2 separate regions of the Homo sapiens genome follow, and region 1 is linked to region 2. The links are contacts of gene promoters, found by promoter capture Hi-C in blood cells and fetal thymus (Javierre and others, 2016). All regions are on one chromosome and are shown on one strand. The core of a region is centred on a gene start or on the middle of the fragment in contact, and the rest is flanking DNA. Distances in the headings are between cores, read along the strand shown.

Evidence for each region. Contacts are between HindIII fragments. The CHiCAGO score rates a contact against its expected background, and 5 or more counts as called.
Region 1: a contact is called between a fragment that was not itself captured here and the fragment with the promoter of ANKFY1 in region 2, in 1 of 17 cell types (naive B cells). The highest score is 5.8, in naive B cells.

The regions. Positions count from the first base shown.
Region 1 is chr17:4,399,958-4,406,958 of GRCh38, forward strand. No RefSeq gene overlaps it. Among named protein-coding and RNA genes, the nearest start is that of SPNS3, 30 kb to the right of the region's middle. The HindIII fragment of the contact is 226 bases long and covers 1,682-1,907 here.
Region 2 is chr17:4,259,982-4,266,076 of GRCh38, forward strand. ANKFY1 (ankyrin repeat and FYVE domain containing 1) reads right to left here and starts at 3,998. Exons shown (of 25, transcript NM_001330063.2): 1 at 3,951-3,998. The coding sequence starts at 3,960. RefSeq lists a silencer at 3,295-3,444 and an enhancer at 4,095-4,184. The HindIII fragment of the contact is 3,100 bases long and covers 1,169-4,268 here.

The sequences.
Region 1 (7,001 bases), core at 545-3,044, 140 kb after region 2:
CTCAGGCATTCCACTGTAGTAGCACAAACGGACTAAGGCAGTATTTGTATCTAAAAGGCTATCTAGAGCTGGGTGTGGTGGCTCACACCTGTAATCTCAGCACTTTGGGAGGCCAAGGCAGGTGAATCACCTGAGGTCAGGAGTTCGAGACCAGCCTGGCCAACATGGTGAAACCCCATCTTTATAAAAATACAAAAATTAGCCAGGCATGGAGCACACACTTATAATCTCAGCTACTCAGGAGGCTGAGGCAGGAGAATTGCTGGAACCTGGGAGGCGGAGGTTGTAGTGAGCCGACATTGCACCACTGCACTCCAGGCTGGGCGACAGACTGAGACTCTGTCTCAAAAAAAAAAAAAAAAAAAGAGGCTGGGCGAGGTGGCTCATGTCTGTAATCCCAGTACTTTGGGAGGCCAAGGCAGGTGGATCACAAGGTCAGGAGGGTTTTTTTTGTTTTGTTTGTTTGTTTGTTTTTTGAGACGGAGTCTTGCTGTCGCCCAGGCTGGAGTGCAGTGGCGCGATCTCAGCTCACTGCAGGCTCTACCCTCTGGGGTTCACGCCATTCTCCTGCCTCAGCCTCCCGAGTAGCTGGGACTACAGGCGCCTGCCACCTCGCCCGGCTAATTTTTTGTATTTTTAGTAGAGACGGAGTTTCACCGTGTTAGCCAGGATAGGATGGTCTCGATCTCCTGACCTCGCCTCGGCCTCCCAAAGTGCTGGAATTACAGGCGTGAGCCACTGCGCCCGGCCAAGGTCAGGAGTTTTGAGATGTGCCTGGCCAAGATGGTGAAACCCTGTCTCTACTAGAAATACAAAAATTAGCTGGGCATGGTGGCGGGCACCTGTAATCCCAGCTACTCGAGAGGCTGAGGCAGGAGAATTGCTTGAACCCGGGAGGCAGAGGTTGCAGCGAGTGGAGATCTTGCCACTGCACTCTAGCCTGGGTGACAGAGCAAGACTCCGTCTCAAAAAAAAAAAAAAAAGAAAAAATTTTTAAAAAGATCTGAATCAGGTAACAATGTGGATGAATCTCACAGATATCCTTGAGAGAAATACATATACACAGTATGATTAATACAGACGTAGTATGATGCCTTTACATGAAGTTCAAAAAGACGAAAATTTCATTTACGGTGTTACAAGTCAGAAGAGCAGTTACCCGTGGTCTAGGAGACTTTCTGGGATAAAGAGAATCTGTTGTTTTTTTTTTGAGACAGAGTTTCACTCTGTTGCCCAGGCTGGAGTGCAATGGCATGATCTTGGCTCAGCACAACCTCTGTCTCCCAAATTCAAGCGATCCTCCTGCCTCAGCCTCCCAAGTAGCTGAGATTACAGGCTTCCGCCACCAAGCCTGGCTAATTTTTTTTTTGTATTTTTAGGGGTTTCACCATGTTGGCCAGGCTGGTCTTGAACTCCTGACCTCAGGCGATCCACCCGCCTTGGTATCCCACAGTGCTGGGATTACAGGTGTAAGCCACCGCGCTCAGCAAAAGATTCTTTTGTATCTTGATCTGGGTGGCGGTTACACTGTATAGTAGGCTGAATAATGGACTCCAACTATATTGGGTCCTAAACTCTAGAGCAGGGGTCCCCAGTCCCTGGGCCGCGGACCACTAACAGTCCCTGGCCTGTTAGGAACCAGGCCTCACAGCAGTAGGTGGAGTGGTGGGCCAGCAAGCGAAGCTTCATCTGTATTTACAGCTGCTCCCCATCGATCACATTTCTGCCTGAGCTCTGTCTCCTGTCACATCACTGGGGCCATTAGATTCTCATAGTAGCACAAACCCTATTGTGAACCGGGCACGCAAGGGATCTAGGTTGCGCGCTCCTCATGAGAACCTAATGCCTGATGATCTGTCACTGTCTCCCATCACCCCCAGATGGGACCATCTAGATGCAGGAAAACAAGCTTAGGGCTCCCACTGATTCTACATTATGGTGAAGTATAATGATTTCATTATATATTACAATGTCATAATAATACAATTAAAGTACACAATCAATGTAATGTGCTTTAATCTTCCTGAAACCATCCCCCGCATCACCCGTCACCCATCCATGGAAAAATATGTCTTCCACAAAACAGGAACTGGTGCCACAAAGCTTGGGGAGTACTGCTCTAGAGTCTGTCAATGTTACCCTATCTGGGAAAAGGGTCTTTGCAGATGTGATAGCTAAGGATCTTGAGATGGAGAGCTTATCCTGGATGACCCGGATGAATCTAAATGCAATCACAGGTGTCCCATAAGAGAGAGGCAGAGGGAGATTTGAGAAGACAGAAGGAGAGAAGGTAATGTGAAGATGGAGAGAGATTGGAGCGAAGTAGACACAAGCCAAGGACTGCCAGCAGCCAGCAGCTAGAAGAGGCAAGGAAGGGACTCTCCCAGAGCCTTGAAGACAGCATGACCCTGCTGACACCTCCATTTCAGTCCTGCGATACCAACTTCAGACTTCTGCCCCCCAGGAGAGAAAACATTCGAGAGAATACGTTTATGGTTTTGGTTGTTTTTTTCTTTTTTTGAGACCAAGTTTCACTCTTGTTGCCCAGGCTGGAGTGCAATGGCGCGATCTCAGCTCACCAAGCGATTCTCCTGCCTCAGCCTCCATAGCTACCATGCCCGGCTAATTTTGTATTTTTAGTAGAGACGGGGTTTCTCCATGTTGGTTAGGCTGATTTCGAACTCCCATCCTCAGGTGATCCGCCGGCCTCGGCCTCCCAAAGTGCTGGGATGAAAGGCGTGAGCCACTGTGCCCGGCCATGTTTATGTTGTTTTAAGACACCAAGTTTGGGATAGTTTGTTATATCAACCGCAGGAAACTAGTACACACAGGTGCATATATATACAGAAAAATTCACTGAGCTGGGCGTGGTGGCTCGCACCTGGAATCCCAGCACTTTGGGAGGCTGAGGTGGGTGGATCACCAGAGGTCAGGAGCTCGAGACCAGCCTAACCAACATGGTGAAACTTCGTCTCTACTAAAAATACAAAAATTAGCTGGGCGTGGTGGTGGGCGCCTGTAATCACAGCTTCTCAGGAGGCTGAGGCAGGAGAATCACTTGAAACCGGGAGGTGGAGGTTGCAGTGAGCCGAGATCGTGCCATTAGAAAAAAAAAAGAACCAGCTCATTAGCACGGGCTTAGTGCCCAGAGGCCCAAGTTCCTGCAGCACTGGTAGTGGTGAGGCCTCCTCCTCTGGCCACAACCAGGTCATCAAAATTGGGGCTGTCAGGGCAGTTGGGATAGAGGGACACAGCTCCCCAGAATCCTAATCTCCCTGTCCTGCCTCCTGCTCTTAGGATCCCATGTACTTTTCCAGATTTTCGTGGACCCTGTGAAGAGCGTTAAGTCCTCAGGAGAGCTCCTCTTTTTTTTGGTTGTTTGTTTTTTTTGTTTTGTTTTTTGAGACGGAGTGTCACTCTGTCGCCCAGGCTGGAGTGCAGTGGCGCGATCTCGGTTCACTGCAAGCTCCACCTTGTGGGTTCACACCCTTCTCGCCTCAGCCTCCTGAGTAGCTGGCACTACAGGCGGCCGCCAACACGCCCGGCTAATTTTTTGTACTTTATTTTTTATTTATTTATTTTTCTTGAGACGGCGTCTCGCTCTGTCGCCCAGGCTGGAGTACAGTGGGGTGATCTCGGCTCACTGCAAGCTCCGCCTCCTGGGTTCAAGCGATTCTCCTGCCTCAGCTTCCTGAGTAGCTGGGACTACAGGCACCTGCCACCACGCCCAGCTAATTTTTATACTTTTAATAGAGACGGGGTTTCACCATGTTGGCCAGGATGGTCTCGAACTCCTGACCTTGTGATGCACCCGCCTCGGCCTCCCAAAGTGTTGGGATTACAGGCATGAACCACCGCGCCTGGCTTGTACTTTTTTAGTAGTGACGGAGTTTCACTGTGTTAGCCAGGATGGTCTCGATCTCCTAACCTCGTGATCCGCCCGCCTCGGCCTCCCAAAGTGCTGGGATTACAGGCATGAGCCATTGCACCCAGCTGTTTCTGCAGTTCTCTTACTGGTCGGACCGGCTTCTCCTCTTCTGGGGCGAACCCCTCAAGTCTTAACTCCTCAGAGGGGTCAGAGTAAGATTAAATACCAATTGCCCAGGCTTCATCGGCTTTTCTTCCCTGCCTCAGTTTCCCCACTGCCTTACTTGTGTTTCCTTGGATTACCTCCCAAATAAACTATCCACAACCAAGTCCTTGTTTCAGGGTCTACTTTGGGGAAACCCACACTAAATCTAAGTCTCAGACGCTGGGGAGGCCCTGGTTCTGTGTCCACTCCTGAAGCTGGGGTCTGGGGTCAGTTCCCCTCTGCCCTGGGTTTCAAGGCTCCAAGATCTCAGTTTGCTCCAGGTTTCTCCCTACATAGATGTCCCAAGAGCCCTCCAAATATAACATCTCTTGGCCGGGTACGGTGGCTCACGCCTGTAATCCCAGCACTTTAGGAGGCCGAGGCAGGCAGATTATCTGAGGTCAGGAGTTCGAGACTAGCCTGGCCAATGCGGTGAAATCCTGTCTTTACTAAAAATACAAAAATTAGCCAGGCGTGGTGGCACGTGCCTGTAGTTCCAGCTACTTGGGAGGCTGAGGCGGGAGAATTGCTTGAACTTGGGAGGTGGGGGTTGCAGTGAGCCGGGATTGTGCCATTGCACTCCAGCCTGGGCGACAAGAGCTAAATAATGTCTCCAAAAAAAAAAAATACATATATATATATATATTTATATATACATTTATATATATTTATATATATATTTGTATATATTTATATATATTCATATATATTTGTATATATTTATATATGTATATATGTATATATTTATATATATTTATATATTTATTTTTATATATTTATATATTTATATATATAAATGTTTATATTTATTTATAAATGTTTATATATATAAACATTTATATATTTCTATATATAAACATTTATATATTTCTATATATAAACATTTATATATTTCTATATATAAACATTTATATATTTCTATATATAAACATTTGTGTATTTCTATATATAAACATTTGTATATTTTTATATATAAACATTTATATATTTATATATATATATGTAAAACATCTCTTAAACCTAACTCACTGTTTTTCTCTTTAAACATGTTTTCCCCCAGACATCCTTCTTCTGCCCTCACTCACTCCCCGGAGGAGCCACATGTTCCTCTCTCACCTTTGCTCAGCCTGTTCCTCCCTCTTACCTTCTCCAGGAAGGTGGGGATGCTCTGGGCCTCCTGGTTTCTTGGTGAGGGCAAGGAGGGCTCTGCAGCTCCCCCAGTCCCAAGGGGCTGTCAGGACAAGGTCAGCCCAGTAGAGGCAGCTAATCTGGGCTTGGGGAGTTGGGACAGGGGAGCTTACACGCACAGGCTCACACAGTGCATATATACACTGTGTACGTGCCCATCTGCGCATACATGGGTGTCTGCACGCATGTACAGGCACACATGGGTGTGTATAGGCACATACAGCACACAAGAGGATGTGTGTGCACCACGGGCATGCATGATCACTCACAGGTACACATATGTCTAGCTGCAAACAGATCCCCTGGGAGAACTTTGACCAGCCCAGCGATGGGTGTAGTGAGCTGTGCAGGGAGATTGGGGGAGAGAAAAGAGAGGGGAGGAGAGGGGAGGGAATCCAGGAGACAAGGTGGGTGGAGAGGTTGGGTTGCAGTTGGGAATCCCAGGAGCTACACTGGCTTCAGTTCCCTTCCTGGGAACTCAGTGTCTCCCTGGGGCTCTGCCCACCAGCAGAGGCATTTGGGGTCAAGAAAATCAATGCCATTCTTTTTGAGTGATGGGGTCAGCTGGTTGTCGGTGGACACTGGGGTTATGTAGATGCATGTCCATCTACTTGGGCCAGACCACGCCATGGCCTCCCACAGCCTCTGTGCAGTGACCATGCCTGCAGGCAGCGGGGTGGAGGACCCTTCCATTGGTCTCCCGTGTCCCTTCCTGAACCACTGGCTTCACCTTCTGTACTCCCTGCCCAGCGCCTGGCCTGACTCCTACTGATAGCCTGCCCCTGGCTTTGGCTCCCTCCTTGACCATGATTCCCACTCACCCAATAATTAGCTTGTATCCCATTAACCTTGACCAGGCCCAGACCACATCCCAGGAGCTGGTTTCTGGGTTTGTCTAGGACCACTAGTGGGACCCAGGCTGGAAGAAGTTCTCATGCTTATGGGGACAGAATTAGGGAAGGAATTCAGAAAAGCTGAGGCAGAGAGAAGCCATTTATAATTAATAGCTCAGGACAAAACTGCGGGCAGAATTAGACTGAGTTTTGTTTTTTGTTTGTTTGTTTGTTGTTTTGAGATGGAGTTTCGCTCTGTTGCCCAGGTTGGAGTGCAATGGCGCAATCTCGGCTTACTGCAACCTCCGCCTCCCAGATTCAAGCAATTCTCCTGTCTCAGCCTCCAGAGCAGCTGGGATTACAGGCGCCTGTCGGGCTTTTTTTTTGAGACAGAGTCTTGCTCTGTTGCCTGGGCTGGAGTGCAGTGGTGTGATCTCGGCTCACTGCAACCTCCACCTCCGGGTTTAAGCCGACTCTCCTGCCTCAGCCTCCCCAGTAGCTGGGATTACAGGCTGATGCCACCACACCCAGCCCGCGCCGGGCTGTTTTTTTGTAAAGACAGGGTTTTTCCCTGTTGTCCAGGCTGGTCTGGAACTCCTGACTTCAGGCTATCTGCTGGCCTCGGCCTCCCAAAGTGCTGTGATTACAGGAATGAGCCACTGCGCCTGGCCTTTTTGTGTTTTTTGAGACAGGGTCTCTCTATGTTGCTCAGGTTGGGGTGCAGTGGTGCCCTCCTGAGGAGTAGCTGGGACCACACACATGCACCACCACGCCTAATTTTTTTTTTTTTTTGAGACAGAGTCTTGCTCTGTTGCCCAGGCTGGAGTGCAGTGACGTGATCTTGGCTCACTGCAATCTCTGCCTCCTGGGTTCAAGCGATTCTCCTGCCTCAGCCTCCCGAGTAGCTG
Region 2 (6,095 bases), core at 2,748-5,247:
CGCAGAGGTAGCAGCATGTCGGGCACACACAAAGAACGCAAAAAAGTCAGTGTGGCAGGGGCACAGTGAATGAAAGTAGGAAATAAGCTCGAAGTGTTAAGTGGGGCCCACACCCTGTTAATACTTAACAGAGAACTGGAATATATTTTAAGATTACGGAGAAGTGTGAGAGTTGGGCATTGAGGGGCAGGAGTATTAAGAAGAGTAGGAGAGACATGATCTGATTGATGTCTTAAAGGGAACACTAGAAACTGTGAAATTAGGCTGTGAGAGAGCAAAATCTAGGAGGAAAAGTTAAAAGCAAACTTTTAATTGGAACCTTTTGAAGTAGTTCACTTACAAACGAAGCTTAGGGCTGGGAGCGGTGGCTCACACCTGTAATCCCAGCACTTCAGGAGGCCCAGGCAGGTGAATGGCTTGAGCCCAGGAGTTCAAGACCAGCCTGGACAACATCACAAAACCCCAACTCTACAAAAAATACAAAAATTAGCCAATGTGGTGGCATGCACATCTGCACTCCCAGCTACTTGGGAGGCTGAAGTGAGGGAATCACTTGAGCCTGGGAGGTGGAGATTGCAATGAGCTGTGATCACGCCATTGTACTCCAGCCTGGGTGACGGAGTGAGATCCTGTCTCCAAAAAAAAAAAAAAAAAAAAAAAACCCACAAATGAAGCTTAGATTAAGCAGGATAGCCACAGAGATGTAGAGTTGGGGAATAAAACTAATTTTAGGACAGACTTTAGCTAAATATATATGGTCAAATGAATAGCCATGGATAGATGGAAGGAAAGAAGGTTGTTCTCTAAACAAGTCACATAAGAAGCTGTATCCTCAGTCTCTCACGATCCTATTTACTATTCCTAGGCACTATCTCCCACATTCTCACATGGCCAACCAACCATTATCAGGGAAGTTCCCATAGTGTGTTTACAGATCATTCAAGTTATATGACACAGATATCTGCTATTTATTTATATTTAAATAACTGTCTCCAAACAAGCATAGCAGGCTCTGAGAATCTGATTAAAGCACAAGCAGTAGTATTAATATCCCAAGAAACATTTTCTACCTAATCTTGCCTTCCTTTGCATAGCAAGCACCTTCAGATTAATAAGCTAAATGACCCAGAATGCCTCCTAGTTGAAGTCTGCAACATCGTTTCTAAAAAGCTTAAATCCCAACAAAAAGTTGGGACACAAAAGAGGTAAAAGAAAAACTGTGGCCGGCCGGGTGTGGTGGCTCACACCGGCAATCCCAGCACTTTGGGAGGCCGAGGCCGGCAGATCAGCTGAGGTTGGGAGTTCAAGACCAGCCTAGCCAACACAGTGAAACCCCATCTCTACAAAAATTAGCCGGGTATGATGGCGGGTGCCTGTAATCCCAGCTACTTGGGATGCTGAGGTGGAAGAATCGCTTGAACCCAGGAGGTGGAGGCTGTGGTGAGCCAAGATTGCGCTATTGCACTCCCGCCTGGGCAACAGAGCGAGACTCCCTCAAAAGGAAAGGGGAAGGGAAGGAAAGAAAGACTGTGAAGTCAGAACTTCATGACTGCTTACCTAGCTATCCCCCTGCTAATTTAACCCTGAAAGGATGTCTTCTTCGTGTGTTTATGGAGAGACACCCCACTGGCGAGATGTCTCTCAAGGCGCTTGCCGGATGATGAGTATGCTGACTCAGCCTGTATGAGCTCCTCAGGGCTGGAACCCGACTGCAAAGCACAGCAGGTGCTCAGTAAAGCTGCTGAATGAAAAACCAGCAGCCCTCCACAATCTCAACCTTGCTAATGTATTCCCAAAACACCGAACTTACCTTCCTAAGTGCAAAAGCGCCAGACTACCCCTTACCTCACAGAAGACCTTCCTGAACCTTTCTACCCGCCTCACTCCTGTGAGCAACAGCTGTCTGCTGTGTACAACATTCCGTGATTTACTCAAAAAGCAACTTCAGGGAATCCCTTGGGTTTTTGCTCCTTTTCTTACTCCTCTGCCTTCAGGCAATATTCACCTAAAGTTTCCCCCTCCAGGGATATGGTAGAAAAAGTAAAGACAAAAACTGGGTGCCTGCCGGGCGCGATGGCTCATACCTGCAACCCCAGCACTTAGAGAGGCCAAAGCGGATGGATTGCTTGAGCCCAAGAGTTGGGAGACCAGCCTGGGTGACATAGTGTGACCTAGTCTCTCTCTTTTTTAAGACAGGATCTTACTCTGTCGCCCAGGCTGGTGCAGTTCACTGCAACCTCCGCCTCCCGGATTCAAATGATCCTCCCACCTCCCTAGTATTACTGCGAGGACCACAGGCACCCGCCATCACTCCATTCACTCCAGGCTGGAGTGCAGTAGCACGATCTCAGCTCACTGTAACCTCCGTTTTCCGGGTTCAAGCGATTCTTGTGCCTCATCCTCCCGAGTACCTGGAATTACAGACACGTGCCACCACACCTGGCTAACTTTCGTATTTTTTGTAGATACGAGGTTTCGCCATGTTGCCCAGGCTGCTCTTGAACTCCTGGCCTCAAGCGATCCTCCCACCTCGGCCTCCCAAAGTGCTGAAATTACTAGCGCGAGCCACCACACGGGGCCAAGACCTTGTCTACACACACACACACCCCTTTTTAATTAGCCGGGTGTGGTGGCGAGCGCCCCTGGTCCCAGCTACTCAGGAGGCTGAGGCAGAAGGATCGCTTGAGCCCAGGAGACTGAAGCTACAGTGAGCCGTGACCGCGCCACTGTACTCCAGCCGGTGGGACAGAGCGAGACCCTATCTCAAAACACACACACACACCCCCCAAAACCAACTGGGTGTCAGTCACAGCTATCTCTGTAACTTTGCCTAAATTCCTTTATCAATAAAGGCAAATACACACGCCAGGCCTCCTTCACGAGGTTATCTGAAGTCTAATGCAAATGAGAAAAGCCGACCAACTGTCAGGTGCTGCCCAAATCTAAGATCCATCAAGTGATGGGTTCAGTCAAAGCTCAAAACCAACAGGAAAGGTCGTGGCCAAGCACACTGCAGTCACTCAATAAACAAAGGTCAAATAAGGAATACTGTTCTCCAATAATGGGGTGAAGAGGAGAACCAGGCTGCCCAGATCCAACAATGTCCCTGCACGATTCCTGACAGGTAACTCCCCGTCTCTGGGCCTTCTTTCCCCCTACGTGTACAATAAGGCTTTGACAATGAAGGCTTCTAATTACTGCTACATTAAGACAGGCAGACTCTGAGAGACCAGAGTGCCTTAAGCTGCAATGTCATGAAAAGTGCACGAGACCAGAGGGTAGGCACTGGACGGGGAGGCAAAGGCACAGAGGTCTGGTTTGAGCAGCCCTCTTGTGAGCAGTGTGACCTTGGCCAACTCCCTTCCCGCAAACCCCTTCCTCCCGTCTTCATCTGTACGCCTGGCCTGAAGGCTGGGGTTGCAGCAGAGCCGGAGCCGCCAGTGCGCCCGCCTGAAGCGTGGGCCAGCTCGCTGCTGCCTCGCCCCCACCCCACCCCACCTCACCCCAACCCAGCCCGAGGAGACCCACGCTCTTCCGCAAGCGAGGGATGGACCCCTTCCGGATGCAGAACGTGCCAGGACAGCAGTTTCGATTTCCTAAGGAGAAGGCTTACTTCCCCCGGCGTCCCGGCACCGCCGGCAATCAAGAGCCTCCCGTGCTGCCCTCGGGGCCCCGCGGCTGCACGCAGCACCGGCGCGGGACCTGCCAGCCCGGCTCCGCAGCCGGCCGCAGTCCCGCGGGGTCGGCATCGCGGGAGGGACGTTGTCATAGGAACCGCGCTCCGGACCCCGGCCCGAGAAGCTCCGGAGAGGCTAGACAGGAAGGCTCGCGAGACCCGCGGAGCCCCCATGCAACCACGCCCGGCCTTCCCCTCCCACGGCAGCTTCGCACGGCCAGCAGCGCCCCCACAGCTCCGTGTCTTCCCGCGCGGCTCCACAAAAAAACCCTACCTTCCGCCATGTCTGGCCCGGCACTGCCTGCAACCTCGCGAGAAGTGCGCGGCTCAACCGGGGCGGTGCGGAACGGAATCACCAAGTCTCGCGAGAATCGCGGGAGGCGCGGCAAAAGGCGGAGCCGAGGGTAGGAAAGTGGGTGAATGAAAGCGGAGGGGGTTGCTGGACTCTGGGGGAAGCGGAGAGCCGGGTTTCTTTTTACCGGGTATTTTTGAGGCTCGAGATTTATTAAGCACTGACTGAGCCCTGTCATATTCCACGTCCTTGGCAGGGCACCGAAAAGGATGACACAACGAATGCAGACTACTCTGGAGAAGCTTGGCAATGAGAGGGTCGAGAGAGGGGGTTTGTTGGTCCTTAGGTTTGTAAAGAAAGGAGAGGCTGGGAGAAAGGAGTCAGTGGAGAGGTCCCTGGGGAGGTAGGATGCTCTGCATGCGATGCAGAACTCAGGAAAACGGATTAAATTTAGACTAGAGGCAGGTCACCTGTTATTCCACTAAAACGGTAGGAAACAAGAACATGCGTGCAGATATATAGGGGGGAAGAAAATCAGGGAGATCGTTTGATGACATCGATTTTATGGGTGAAGTTATGAGACAAGGAAGGAGACCAAGAAGAGCAAAGAAACTTTGGAAGAGGACGCTGAAGTTGGAAGGCCTGGTTTCATGTGCCTCATGTATGTGTTGATGGATCACTTTTTTCTAGAACTCAGCCACCAGGCTGCAGTAGCAGATATTTTGAATTATAGCATTTATCCAGGGCTTGGGATTGCATTGCCCAAAATAAATTGAGGGTGCTATGAGACGACAGCCCAGGCCATCAAACGTGGGATACAGACTGGCTAGGGACTGATGGAGGAGCCACGAAACTGCAGGTCTCTGATAATTGAAGGCCAGTGCAGTGCAGGCAATGTTGTGAGAGCTTGGTGGTTAAAGTGGCAAACAGGTTCATAGTGAAGTAGCACTAGGAGATGAGAAAAGTCCAGGACAGGCCGGGCGTGGTGGCTCACGCCTGTAATCCCAGCACTTTGGGAGGCCGAGGAGGGTGAATCACCTGAAGTCTAGAGCTCAAGACCAGCCTGGCCAACATGGTGAAACCCCGTCTCTACTAAAAATACAGAAATTAGCCGGGCGTGGTGGTGCATGCCTGTAATCCCAGCTACTCGGGAGGCTGGGGCAGTAGAATCGCTTGAACCCGGGAGGCAGAGGTTGCAGTGAGCCAAGATTGTGCCACTGCACTCCAGCCTGGGCAACAGAGTGAGACTCTGTCTCAAAAAAAAAAAAAAAAAGTCCAGGACAGAGCCACGGAATAGAGTGGCTGAAGTGGAAGTGAGAAGGCAGGAAAATTAGATGTTGGGATTTAGAGGTAGGAAAGGAAAGGAGCATCAGGAGCTAAAATCTTTGGTGAATGTGGGGAGGACTATACGATTAGTTAAGACAATTGCAAAATGGAGGGCTAAACAGTAACATAGCTGAATAGCATGAGACCTTTCTTGTTTTTTGTTTTTTTTTTTTTTCAGAGATGGAGTCTCTGTTGGCCAGGTTGGTCTTGAACTCCTAGTCTCAAGCAGTCCTCCCACCCCAACCTCGCAAAGTACTGAAATTACAAGCATGAGCCACCATGCCCGGCCCAGCATGAGACCTTTCAAAAAAGACTTTTACTCAAGGGAGAATCAAAAGAATGCATCAATAGTTCAGGATTGCAGGGAAAGTGGTGGCCTTGGAGGACAGCCAGGAGTAAGAGACAAAAGGTTGGAAGGAAGGATCTGAATTAGCTATACCTGGTGGTGCAGGCTTTTAGTTGTCGCTACTTGGGAGGCTGAGGCTGAGGCTGGAGAATTGCTTGAGTCCAGGAGTTTGGGACTGCAGTGAGCTCTATCCTGCCGCTGCACTGCAGCCTGGGTGACAGAGCAAGACTCTGTCTCTAAAATTAAATAAGAAAAAGAAAAGAAATTTAAAAAGAAGAATCTGAGAACAGAATAAGAGTGTCAGAAACGAAAAGGAGGATTTAAAGTTGGAGAAGCTTTAGGTGCTGTTAAGGATAAGCATTAGTGGGTAGTGAGGTGGAGTGGAGGAGGAATTTGGAGCTTAGATCGTGGGAACATAGAGTCAAGCACTGAATTTTTGAGGAAGAGTAGGAATT